Regions from separate parts of the Homo sapiens genome. Here regions 1, 3 and 4 are each linked to region 2. Evidence: promoter capture Hi-C in human tissues and cell types (Jung and others, 2019). All regions are on one chromosome and are shown on one strand. Each heading gives the region's core, a stretch centred on a gene start or on the middle of the fragment in contact. The rest is flanking DNA. Distances are from core to core; before and after follow the strand shown. Region 1 overlaps CPQ (carboxypeptidase Q). Region 2 holds the start of TSPYL5 (TSPY like 5). Region 3 has its middle 98 kb from the start of SNORD3H. Region 4 overlaps LOC101927066 (a long non-coding RNA gene).

Region 1 (3,167 bases), core at 413-2,912, 150 kb after region 2:
GCTAAGTTTACTTCTTGCTTCTAGCAGCATATGTTTGTAGTTTTCTTAGGATTTTCTATGTACTGTGAAAGTTATCAGAATAAAAATGAAGGCATAAATGTTATGAAAACCCAAACAAATACAGCTAGGGAAGGTCACGAAGAGAGGGTTCTCATGCTTGCATGCCTGATAACAAAAAAGACCGCTAAAACCACAACTTTGCACAGAGACCATCAAGACTTTGCATAAAACTTACTTCTGTAAGTACATCTGCCCAGCAGCTACCTGTCCAACCTCAGAAGGTGTCACTCTTGCTATTTTTTATTATTATTTTTTTAAATTATAGGGTTAGTGGGTACAAGTGCAGAAGACGTGTATATATTGTGCAGTTGTGAGGTCTGGGCTTTTAGCGTACCCATCGCACCCTTCTTATTGATCTTTGTAGTCAAGGATAATTATTTTAAAACAATTATGTAATCTTCCTCATTTTTTCCTTGAAAAAGCTTTGTCTTCCTTTACCTCCCTGAATACACACATAGTTAACTACAGCCTAGGTATTTCCATTGCAAAGCTCTATTCCCAGATAAACATCTTTCTTTCACAGAGCCCCTCTCTTTTAGTTATTTAGGTTGACAGTACACAATTCTGTTGTTTATTCATAATAATAATTTTACTACTTCCTTTGCAATCTGTAATCTTTGATTTCTTTATCTTGTCTAATTATACTAGTTGGTACTTGCAATATGATGTTTAAATAGAAGTGGTGAGAACGGGAATCTTTGTCTTATTCCCCATCGTAGTAGGAAAGCATTCACTCTTTCATAATTAAACTGAAGATTTGACATCACTGCCTTTTAACAGGTCGAGGAAGCTGTCACTATTCCTAATTTTCCAAAAGTCATTATTATGAATGGGTGTTGAATTTTGTGCAATGCTTTTTATGCACCTCCTGAAATGATCATACTCTTTCCTTTATTATGTTAATGTGGTAAATTATATTGATCGATTTAAAAATATTAAACCAACCTTAAATTTCTAAGATAAATGCCACTTGAACATAGTATATTATCCAGTTTACATATGGCTGAATTTAATTTGCTTATATTTTGTTAAGAATTTTTGTGTCTATATTTATGAAGGATATTGGTCTATAGTTTTCTTACCATATCTTTGGTTTTGATATCAGTGTCATACACGCCTTATAAAATGAGTTGGGAAGTATTTACCTCTTTCTCTGTTTTCTTAAAGTTTGCATAGTCATGTTATTATTTATCCTTTAAATGGTTCACAGAATTAATTAGGGAACTACCTGGGCCTGGGGTTTTCTTTGAGTAAAGGCTTTTACTTATGAATTCAATTCATTTAATTTATAGGAGTATTTAGGTTTTTTATTTCTTCTTGAATCAGTATTAGCAATTTGTCTTTTAAGGAATTTATGCATGTCATCTGCGTTGTTGAATTTTTTGTATATGTTTGTTCATTAGAGTCCTTTAGTGCCCTTTTAATGACGTATGTGTAGTCATGTGTCCTGTTTCACACCTGAGATTGCCAGTTTGCATCTTCTCTTTTTTCTTGACCAGCTTGATAGTTTATCAGTTTTATAGCTTTGTTTCAAAAAGTCCGTTTTAAAATTCATTGATTTTCTCTATTATTTATTATTTTCTATTTCATTGATTTCTACTTTTTTCTACGTACTTAAGGTTAGTATTTTTGTTGTTGTTGTTAGCTTCTTAATGTGGAAGCTAGATCACTGATTTTAGAACTTTCTTCTTTTCTAACATAAGCATTTAACCTACACATTTCCATCTAAGCACTGCTTTAGCTTCATCCCATACACTGGGATATATTGTGTTTTTATTATCAATAAGGTTCAAATAAATTCTAATTTCCTGGTGATTTCTTCTTTGATCTATGGCTTATTTAGAAGTGTGATATTTAATTTCCAAGTATTTGGGAATTTTCTTGATATCTTAATGCTTTTGACTTCTTACCCAATTCCATGGTGGTCAACAAACAGACCTCATATAATTTTAATCCTTTTAAATTTGTTGAGAAGCTTTTATAACCCAGCATATAGTCTATCATGGTGAATACCCCATGTGCACTTAAAAAGAATGTACACCCTGCTGTTGTTGAATGCAGTGTTCTGTAATATCAATTTGATCAAGTTGATTGATAGTATTGTTTGAATCTTCCATATCCAGACTTTCCAGCTACTTGTTCTAACAACTGCTGAGAAGTGTTGAAATTTCCAGCCACAACTATAGATGTGTGTATTCTTTCAATTCTGTCAGTTTTTTCTTCATGTAGTTTTCAAAGCTTGTAATTGAATGAATTTACTTTTTTTTTTTTTTTTTTTTTTTTTTGAGACGGAGTCTTGCTCTGTCGCCCAGGCTGGAGTGCAATGGTGCAATCTCGGCTCACTGCAACCTCCACCTCCCCAGCTCAAACGATTCTCCTGCCTCAGCCTCCAGAGCAGCTGGGATTACAGGTGTCCACCACCAAGTCCATCTAATTTTTGTTTTTCTTTAGTAGAGATGGGGTTTCACCATGTTGGCCAGGCTGGTCTCAAACTCCTGACCTTGTTGTGATCTGCCCACCTCGGCGAGTGAATTTACTTTTAAGATCACTGTGTCTTATTGATGAATAGATTATTTTACCATTATAAAATGTCCCTCCTCCTCTCTAATAATGTTCTCTATTTTGAAGCCAACTTTTTCAGATAGTACAATTATGACAGCCTTCACGTATACAGAATTTGCTGTATATCTTTTTCTATCCATTTATATCTAACCTAGCTATTTTTATATTTAAAATATTTTTTTTGTAAATAGCATATAACTGAATCTTGCTTTTTTTATTCAGTTTGACGATTTCTGTCTTTTAATGGGGCATGGTTAGTCTATTTATGCCTAATGTAATTACTGATATATTGAGTTTGTATTATATCATCTTGATTTTTTTGTACCTTATTCTTTATTCTTTCACTGTTCCTTTCTTCCTTTCATTTCATATGAGGTTTTTCTTTTCAAATTCCATCTCATCTTTTCTATGGCTTATTGGCTATACCATTTTTTAAAAATGGTTGCTCTAGCATTTACAATATGCATTTTAACTATCACAGTCTTCATTAGATATGTACTTCATATATTTAAGAATTCTACAATAGTATACTTCCACTTATTCTC
Region 2 (3,364 bases), core at 476-2,975:
ACCAACCACATTGGGAAAGAGCATTTAAGGTAGAAGGAAGAGCCAGTGCAAAGGCTCTGAGGCAGGAGTTTACCTAGTGAGTTTAAGAACAGCAAGGAAGCCAGTGTAGCTAGAGGTGGGAGAGAGGAGAGAGAAGATGAGGTCAGAGAGGTAACTCATGTAGTGGCAGATAGAAGACTTGCCAGATCATACAGGGCCTTGCAGGCTATTCTAGAGCTTTTGAGAAAATGAGGAATCACTTGTATTAGGCCGGCTTAAAATAGGGCCATCTGTATAAAAATAATTCCTCTTTAAATTGTTTCCTTAAACTTAGGGGTGTATACAAATCACCCAGGATCTTGTTAAAATTCAAATTCTGACTTAGTAGGTCTGGGGAAAGGCCTGAGATTCTGCATCTTTAACAAGCTTTCAGGTGATATCAGGCTGCTGGTCCACAACCACACTTTGAGTAATGAGGTCCCGGGGCTTTTGGGCTTATCTCTCCACTAGCTGGTTACAAGGGCCTTTTTGTTCCCTTTGAGCCTGAAAAGACCACCTCAAAAGGTTTTTCTTTATATTTTTACATTAGCCACAGGTCCCCTCACTGTTCATGGTCCTATTACCTCACTAGTAAGAGCGTGGTCCAGGGCTGCCTCCGGGACTGTGGGGGAGGTTGTCCGGCTGTTTCCATGCACAGTGTAAGAAGTTTCTAGGGCTTCTGCAGTGCCACGTGGAGGCTCTGCTTCTGAACCTCAATCTGCTCCCTGAATAATAATTTCACCTCTCACCACATTCTTGTCTTACTCCAATTACAGGAGCTCTAATACAGGTCTTCACTTCTGGTCCTATACCTAGAGTGATAGTCCAGATCTGTAAACTGAGGCAGCTGGGGGACTCGGGTGATGTTCCCAGGCAGAAGAGGTGGTCAGGTGGTCCACGGAAGCCTGTTTGTTAAGGAGCAAGGCTGATTTCTTAAGAGCCAGCCCAGTAATTGACAGTGGAACAAGTCTGGAAGGACTTGCCATTTCCAAATATAAGGCATAGGATACGGAGTCCCATGGGCTTGAGTTTGAATTGTGCTTCCATCCCTTACTGTGTAACCTGGGGAATGTGCCCGGGTGTCTCTGAGATGCAGTTTTCTTATCTCGAAAATGGGAATGATATCAACACCTCCTTTGTAAATTGAGATAATGCATTTAAAGCACCTAGTAAAGTGCCTGGCACAAATGATACAAAATACTAGTTGCCATTATTTTTATAATTTCTACTATCATCTTACTGCGTACCAAATCGCTTTGACGCCCGGCATTATAGCATCCACCTTTACGTTCTCTGGAGTTAAGGTACCAGAGCAAATCCCTCAGCAAAGGTGTTCAAAGAGAGACACACACGCCCGAGCACTTTCTTCATGACAGATGCCACAAGAGATAACTGGAGGAGCTGAAGATGTTTAGTTTAGAAAACAGGTGATGGGGGACAGGTGGTGATGGCTCTTAGCGTTGCCTTGTTCAACGAGACCCTGAGAGCACGATGAGCCCGCGCGGAAGAGATGAAATGGCAGCACCCCCGCGAGCGCATATCAGAGAAACTCGCCGAGACCTAAAGCGAGTCCGCGCGAGATGGGGGTGGGAGCGCCCGCGGGGGTCGTCTCCTGCGCAGCCGCAGCGGCGGCGCCAATCACCGGGCGCATCACGTCCTCTCGCGACGGTACAGTTGTACGTTCGTGACGTCGGCGGTTGCCGTGGAGAGACCCGCTCGGTCCCGACCGAGAGCTGGCGTCAGGAGCCGCAGGGTCACAGCGTGTCTTTGAAGCTGCCTCCGCCGCCACCATGAGCGGCCGAAGTCGGGGTCGAAAGTCCTCCCGCGCCAAAAACCGGGGCAAAGGCCGCGCCAAAGCCCGAGTCCGCCCTGCTCCGGACGACGCCCCGCGCGACCCGGACCCTTCACAGTACCAGAGTCTCGGGGAAGACACCCAGGCGGCACAGGTGCAGGCTGGCGCGGGGTGGGGTGGCCTGGAAGCCGCTGCGTCCGCGCAGCTCCTCCGGCTCGGGGAGGAGGCCGCCTGCCGGCTCCCCCTGGACTGTGGCCTCGCGCTGCGGGCCCGAGCTGCGGGGGACCACGGGCAGGCCGCGGCCAGGCCCGGCCCGGGGAAGGCCGCATCTCTCTCGGAGCGCCTGGCCGCAGACACTGTCTTCGTGGGAACAGCGGGAACCGTGGGAAGGCCGAAAAATGCCCCCCGCGTTGGAAACCGGCGTGGCCCTGCCGGGAAGAAGGCCCCAGAAACCTGTAGCACCGCGGGGAGGGGGCCTCAGGTCATAGCTGGTGGGAGGCAGAAGAAAGGGGCGGCAGGGGAGAATACCTCGGTGTCAGCTGGGGAGGAAAAGAAGGAAGAGAGGGATGCAGGGTCGGGGCCCCCAGCGACGGAAGGCAGCATGGATACGCTGGAGAACGTGCAGCTGAAGCTGGAGAACATGAACGCCCAGGCGGACAGGGCCTACCTTCGGCTCTCCAGGAAGTTTGGGCAGTTGCGACTGCAGCACTTGGAGCGCAGGAACCACCTCATCCAAAATATCCCGGGCTTCTGGGGGCAAGCATTTCAGAACCATCCCCAGCTAGCATCCTTTCTGAATAGCCAAGAGAAAGAGGTACTGAGCTACTTAAACAGCTTGGAAGTGGAAGAGCTCGGCCTTGCCAGATTGGGCTACAAAATCAAGTTCTACTTCGATCGCAACCCGTATTTCCAAAATAAGGTGCTCATCAAGGAATATGGGTGTGGTCCTTCTGGCCAGGTGGTGTCTCGTTCTACTCCAATCCAGTGGCTCCCAGGGCATGATCTCCAGTCCCTAAGCCAGGGAAACCCAGAAAACAACCGTAGTTTCTTTGGGTGGTTTTCAAACCACAGCTCCATTGAGTCTGACAAGATTGTGGAGATAATCAACGAAGAATTGTGGCCCAATCCCTTGCAGTTCTACCTTTTGAGTGAAGGGGCTCGTGTAGAGAAAGGAAAGGAAAAAGAAGGCAGGCAAGGTCCAGGAAAGCAGCCAATGGAGACTACTCAGCCTGGGGTGAGCCAATCCAACTGATCCTGCACAAGTCTCCCTGCTACCTCCTGCTGGGCTGCTCCTGGTTGACTACATATTTGGCTCTCTGCCTTCTCTTCATGTTGGCCTCTGTGTACTATAGACCCTTTGGACTTTAGTTACAAGAATATGGCATTTATGATCATGTTCTTTTGCCTCCCATAGCCTCTTGCTTTTCTACGTTAGTGTCACATGTTATGTGATCGCACCCGGACTGTTCATATGTTAAGCACACATACTTTAGATGTGTGCTCCCTGTTATCTACATTGCCTGGACCTTGTTCTTGGCTCTGGCCTTTCCTACT
Region 3 (3,267 bases), core at 215-2,714, 180 kb before region 2:
AGAATAATGGTCTCCAACTCCATCCAGGTTGCTGCAAATGCCATTATTTCATTTCTTTTTATGGTTGGGTAGTGTTCCATGGTGTGTGTGTGTGTGTGTGTGTGTATATATATATATATATATATATATATATATATATATATACATATCCATTTTCTTTATCCACTCATTGATTGATGGACATTTAGGCTGGTTCCATATTTTTGCAATTGCAGATTGTGCTGCTATAAACATGGATGTGCAAGTATCTTTTTCATATAATGACTTCTTTTCCTCTGGGTAGATACCCAGTAGTGGGATCACTGGATCAAATGGTCATTCTACTTTTAGTCCTTTAAGGAGTCTTCATACTGTTTTCCATAGTGGTTGTACTAGTTTACATTCCCACCAGCAGTGTAAAAGTGTTCCCTTTTCACCACATCCATACCAATATCTATTCTTTTGTGATTTTTAAATTACGGCCATTCTTGCAGGAGTAAGATGGTATCACATTGTGGGTTTGATTTGCATTTCCCTGATAATTAGTAATGTTGAACCTTTTTTTAGATGTTTCTTGGCCATTTGTCTTTCTTCTTTTGAGAATTGTGTATGCATGTCCTTAGCCCAAAAGTTTCCCCTGATCATAAGGACTCCTGTTATATTGGACTAAGGTCTGCTCTAATGACCTTATCTTGACTACATCTGCAAAGGCTCTATTTCTAAATAAGATCCTATTCTGAGGTGCCTGGGATTGTGGCTTCAACATATCTTTTCTGGGAGATACAATTCAATCCCTAACACCAGGTGAGGCGGCTTCATAACAAGGTTGTTTAATTTCTTAATAACTAAATTCCGTGGTCCTGGAACACTCCTGGGCATGGGGTCAGAATTTAGCAAATCATAGTTGAATAAGTAAAGTAATTCCTTACCTAGGTATAGACACTTACAAAGCACCCTCACATACCTTTGAGGTATAGATTATACAATACTAATTTTCTAAGTTTGAAAATGGAGGTTGTGATGGTTAATACTGACAGTCAACTTGATTGGATTGAAGGATACAAAGTATTGATCCTGGGTGTGTCTGTGAGGGTGTTACCAAAGGAGATTAACATTTGAGTCAGTGGGCTATAGGATGGGATTCTGTCTTGGACTCCACTGAGTAGGGGAAATACATTTAAGGGTGGGAAAGGCAGACCCACCCTTAATCTGGGTGGGCATCTTCTAATCAACTGCCTGCCCAGCTAGAATATAAGCAGGCAGAAAAATGTGAAAAAAGAGACTAGCCTAGCCTCCCAATCTACATCTTTCTCCTGTGCTGGATGCTTCCTGCCCTTGAACATCAGACCTCAAGTTCTTCAATTTTGGGACTCGGACTGGCTCTCTTTGCTCCTCAGCCTACAGACAGCCTATTGTGAGACCTTGTGATCATGTGAGTTAATACTTAATAAACTCCCCTTTATATCTCTATCTCTATCTCTATCATCTCTATATCTATTCCATTAGTTCTGTTCCTCTAGAGAACCCTGACTAATACAGAGGCCCTAAGAGGTTAAGAGAATATGCCTTTCATAATCTATAGTTACCTGGTTTGTTTCCTTGTTTATTGTTTGTCTCTCCAAAGAAAAGTGAGGTCAGAGACCTTGACTATTTGCTGAATGCTTTATCTCCACCATCCAGCATGGTGACTAACACATGGTGGGTACTCAATACGTATTTGTGAAGGGGATGAATACATGAAGTAGCCTAACAGCAGGGATCTGAATCCAGGTTTTCCAACTCCACATCTAGTTCTGTTTTGTTATGGATAAATAGATGAATAAAGGAATGTATTTCCCCCACTCAGTGGTGTCCAAGACAGAATCCCACCCTATAGTGAATAATGAATAGTGTTAGTTTGTTGTTCAATGAGACATATTATAATAGTAGGCTGAGGGAAGAAAAAACCCCCACATTTTTCTGGGATTTTTTTATTTTTATTTTTCCTAGATTTTTAAATAACAAACTTAAGAAGAGACGGAGACTAAGTGATGTGTCCCCACCCAAATCTCATCTTGAATTGCACCTTCCACAATCCCCACCTGTCGTGGGAGGAAGCTGGTGGGAGGTGATTAAATTATAGGGGTGAGTCATTCCTGTGCTCTTCTCATGATAGTGAGTGAATCTTACAAGATCTGATGGTTTTAAACAGGAGAGTTTCCCTTCACAAGCTCTCTTCTCTTGTCTGCTGCCATGTGAAATGTGCCTTTCACCTTCCACCATGATTGTGAGGTCTCCCCAGCCACGTGGAACTATAAGTCCAATAAACCTCTTTTTTTTTTGTAAATTGCCCAGTCTCAGGTATGTCTTTATCGGCAGTGTGAAAATGGACTAATACATTAAGCAAGTGGACGTTCAAACATTTCTGACTGTGACCCACAGGAGGAAATTCATTTTGCCTTATAACTTATTAACATACACAAAACTGATACACACATTTCATTAAACAGTACTTACCCTTACACATGCAATATTCTCTGATCCCTCCCCACCCAGGCCCTTGCTCTCTTCTCCTTCTGTTCCTCCCCTTCCATCCTCCCCATTCCATTCAGTTCTGTTCTCTTCCCTTCTCTGCTCTTTTCCACTCCATCTTAAAAGTGCTAATTTCTACTTCCTGGATTGATTTTATGATGCACTGAGTTGTGACCTGTAATTGAAAAATGCTGTGGTAAATACCACTAGGCATTCATCAGAATCCATTTGCCCTTTCTCTGGTCACAGTGAGATTACATTTCCTAGTCTTCTATACATTGAGATTTAACCAGGTGTCTAAGTGCTGTCTAGCAGAATGTGAATGGAAGTAATATGTATAGCTGTCAGGCCTGGCCCATAAAAACCTCCCTGGTGAGTTCCTTTATGCTCCTTTCCTCTCATGGCTAACTGGATGACAATTCCCAGAGAGGCCTTGGTAGCCACTTTCTGAAGATGGCAGCGCCATTGTCAGCCTGGGTACCTGGACTGTTACAGGAAAAAGAATAAACTCCTTGTTCTTTAGACACCTAAATCTTTGTGGCTATCTGTAAGGACAACTAAGCTTATCCTCACTTATCCAATGACCAAGTAGAGGTTTGACTTTCTTTTTTTTTAAAATATACTTTAAGTTCTGGGATACATGTGCAGAATGTGCAGGTTTGTTACATAGGTATACATGTGCCATGGTGGTTTGCTGCACCCAGCAACCCGTCATCTATGTTAGGTATTTCTCCTAATGCTATCCCTCCCCTAGCCTAGAGGTTTGACTTTTGAGAG
Region 4 (3,269 bases), core at 16-2,515, 160 kb before region 2:
GGGGACCCACCATGAATAACAAAGACACTCTTATCATTTGGGAAATTTTAAGGATTTAGACACTGCCTTCCAGGACCTGGAGACAGAGGCCAAGTTCTTTATTACACGGGAAATGCTTTCAGCAATGATTTGGATAGAGTTGGTGCCCAGGGATATAATCTGGTGGGTAGAGCCCACAGCAGGGAGTCCAAATGGACACCTGACACTAGAGAGGCAGGTGAGTTGCATGTAACAGCTGACATTTAGAAATAGCTGCCCTTAGATTATAGGCAGAAATCATTCAGTGTTGGACACATAGTAGGTGCTTAATATTAAAGAGTTTGTTAAATTAGTGAAATGAGTGTGAGTTGGATGTCAATGGATGTGTAAACTTGGACAGATGAAAAATAGGTGAGGAGGATAGGAGGATGTTTCCAGAACCAACTTGTCAAAGGCCAGAGCAAGGATGCAGGTGGCAAGTTCAGGAGCATGACTGTGGGTTCCTGCAGGACTGGAAGGGGAAGTAGGATGACTAGGAGCAGAACTCACAGATCCTTGAGTACTGGTATTAGTACATCGGTTTGGTCACTTTAATAGAAATCAAGGTAGAAGATTTAGTTCTAAGTCCTGTAAATGTCCAAGCTGGTAGGTGACCCAGGGAGGTGATTTGTTCTGCTTCACAGAGGTATCCAGAGTCCCACGTGCCTTCATTTTATTGTGCTTCTGTCCCCTGAGATATCTTCTGCATGGTTGAATCTGGTTCATTCCTACCCCATCTCTCTTCTAGTGCATGGAAAGGAAGAAAGAGGACATAGGCCGAGCATGGTAGCTCGTACCTGTAATCCCAGCACTTTGGGAGGCCGAGGAGGGAGGATTGCTTGAGGTCAGGAGTTTGAAACCAGTCTGGGAAACATAGTGAGACCCTGTCTCTACAAATATTATGTATAAAAAATTAGCTGGGTGTGATGGCTCGTGCCTGTAGTCCCAGCCACTCGGGAGGCTGAGACTGTAGTCCCTTCACCTTGGGAGGTGGGAGGATCTCTTGAGTCCAGGAATTTGAGGCTGCAGTGAACTATGATCATGCTACTGCACTCCAGCCTGGGCGACAGAGCAAGACCCAGTTCCTGTTTCAAAAAAAAAAAAAAAAAAAAGACATAGAGGGCAAGCAATTTTCTTTTAAGAAGATGATCTAGACATTGCCCACAGTATTTTTCCTCACGTCTCATTAGCTAGAAAGTAGTCATATGGAAACATAGAAAATGTAGACTGTAGCTGAAAAACCTTGTGCCCAGTTAAAACGTAGGTGTGTGTGGGGGAGGGCAAGGGTTGTATTAAAAAAAAGTAAGGAGAGAGTGGATATTGGGGAAAAGTTAGCAGACTATGTCATTCCAGCCTAAAGTGTTTAGACTTCAAATCACAGGATAGTGAGACCTGGAGAGAGTTTTGAGAAGAAATGATCATGCTCAGTTCTAAATGACTTCTAGAGCCACCTTACAATTTCAATTGTAGTATGATAATGTAAATAAGACACTCGTATTATGAAAGCAAGCAATGTATATGGTTGTGTGTGTGGTTGACAAAGAGACATAAGGGAAGTATTCTCTAAAGAACTGACCATTTATTTTCTTTCTCTTTTCTTTTTTTTTTTGAGACAGGGTCTCACTCTGTCACTGAGGCTGGAGTGCAGTGGTGCGATCATGGTTCATGCAGCCTCAATCTCCTGGGCTCAGGTGATCCTCCACCTCAGCCTCCCGAGTAGCTGGGACCACAGGCGTGTGCTACCATGCCCAGCTAATTTTTATTTATTTTATTATTATTTTTTTTTGTAGAAACAGGGTCTTGCCATGTTGCCAAGGCTAGTCTTGAACTCATGGGCTCAAGCAGTCCTCCTGCCTCGGCCTCCCAAAGTGCTGAGATTACAGGCATGGGCCACTGCACCCAGCCAACAGTGTACTTTAGATCTAAACTCTGATAATATTAAATAAGCAAGAGGAGAGGGAATAGTGTTTCATGCAAAAGAACCTGTATGTACAAGTGCCCTGAGGCAGGTTAGAACATGGTGACTAAGAATAAGTAAGTCTAGTGTAAGTGAAATGGAGTGAGCGCTAAGTAATATGGTACAAAATGATTATCGAAGGCTGGGCGCGGTGGCTCACGCCTCTAATCCCAGCACTTTGGGAGACCGAGGCGAAAAGATCACTTGAGGTAAGGAGTTCGAGACCAGCCTGGCCAGCATGGCAAAACCCCATCTCTACCAAAAATACAAAAATTATCCCGGCATGGTGGTGTGTACCTGTAGTCCCAGCCACTTGGGAGGCTGAGTCAGGAGAATCACTTGAACCTGGGAGGTGGAGGTTGCAGTGAGCTGAGATTGTGCCGCTGCACTCCAGCCTGGGTAACAGAGTAAGACTCCATCTCAAAATAAATAAATAAATAAATAAATAAATAAATAAATAAATAAATAAATAAAATAAAATAAAATAAAACAAAACAAAACAAAATGATTATCGAAAGGCAATAAAGGGTCTTTTAAGGATGTCAGTCTCAGACCTAAGGATAGTGGGAATCCTTTGAAGTATTTTAAGCAGGTAAGTATTTCAAATATATTCGTGTTGTTGAGTGTAGAGAAACATTAGAAGGGAGCAAAGGTAGACGAGGTGTCAGCAAGCATTGTAATCTACATTAATTGAGTGATGGGTACCCTAACAGTCCTGACTTGACCACTAAGCAGTCTATACATGTAACAAAATTGCACGTGTACCATATACATTTGTATCAAAAGTTGAAAATTTATTCTTATGAGTAGACCTGTAGTACAAAATTATACCAAATTGTTACTATTATCGTATTTTAAAAACATACCAATTAAAAATTGTAGAAGTTTATGTCCTTTCTTATGAGTACTACATAAATAATGGCCTTGATTTTGGGATTTTGGCTTGCAAAGCCTAAAATATTTATGATCTGGTTCCACTCTCCATGGTTCCTTCTGTGTGGAGGATCCTTTCTAGAGGAACACTCCGCTCTCCCTCTGCTCCTGTGTCGTGTGTCACTCTTCTCCAGACGAGGAGTGTTTGACCTGATTGATGAGTCTGGGAGAAGGAGCTTAGCTTTACCTGCCTTTAGTAAAGACGAGATTTCTTTTGTCCTCTGTTATGAGGAAAGCCTGACAGGGTTGGTCTCCAAGGAGGAGCCTGTCATTTTCCAACTGCAGCTGTCACTGGTGAGTAACAACTAAGCCATGGCCTCCGATAGAGCTTTTCATCTGTATTGAGGGTGCTCTCTCCACC

What was found. Contacts are between HindIII fragments. The study calls those that stand out against the background at their distance.
Region 1: a fragment that was not itself captured here is called in contact with the fragment with the promoter of TSPYL5 in region 2 in 1 of the 25 tissues and cell types used here (aorta).
Region 3: a contact is called between a fragment that was not itself captured here and the fragment with the promoter of TSPYL5 in region 2, in 2 of the 25 tissues and cell types used here (IMR-90 fibroblasts and stomach).
Region 4: a contact is called between a fragment that was not itself captured here and the fragment with the promoter of TSPYL5 in region 2, in 1 of the 25 tissues and cell types used here (heart left ventricle).

What each region holds. Positions count from the first base shown.
Region 1 is chr8:97,123,404-97,126,570 of GRCh38, reverse strand. All of the region lies in intron 7 of CPQ (carboxypeptidase Q), which reads right to left. The region is part of intron 2 of LOC101927066 (a long non-coding RNA gene); the gene reads left to right. Among named protein-coding and RNA genes, the nearest start is that of TSPYL5, 150 kb to the left of the region's middle. The HindIII fragment of the contact is 5,189 bases long and covers 1-3,167 here.
Region 2 is chr8:97,276,289-97,279,652 of GRCh38, reverse strand. TSPYL5 (TSPY like 5) reads left to right here and starts at 1,725. Exons shown (of 1, transcript NM_033512.3): 1 at 1,725-3,364. The coding sequence starts at 1,809. The coding sequence ends at 3,062. The region is part of intron 2 of LOC101927066 (a long non-coding RNA gene); the gene reads left to right. RefSeq lists an enhancer at 2,187-2,688. The HindIII fragment of the contact is 7,330 bases long and covers 1-3,364 here.
Region 3 is chr8:97,454,340-97,457,606 of GRCh38, reverse strand. No RefSeq gene overlaps it. Among named protein-coding and RNA genes, the nearest start is that of SNORD3H, 98 kb to the right of the region's middle. The HindIII fragment of the contact is 9,600 bases long and covers 1-3,267 here.
Region 4 is chr8:97,435,293-97,438,561 of GRCh38, reverse strand. The region is part of intron 1 of LOC101927066 (a long non-coding RNA gene); the gene reads left to right. Among named protein-coding and RNA genes, the nearest start is that of SNORD3H, 79 kb to the right of the region's middle. The HindIII fragment of the contact is 3,483 bases long and covers 1-3,006 here.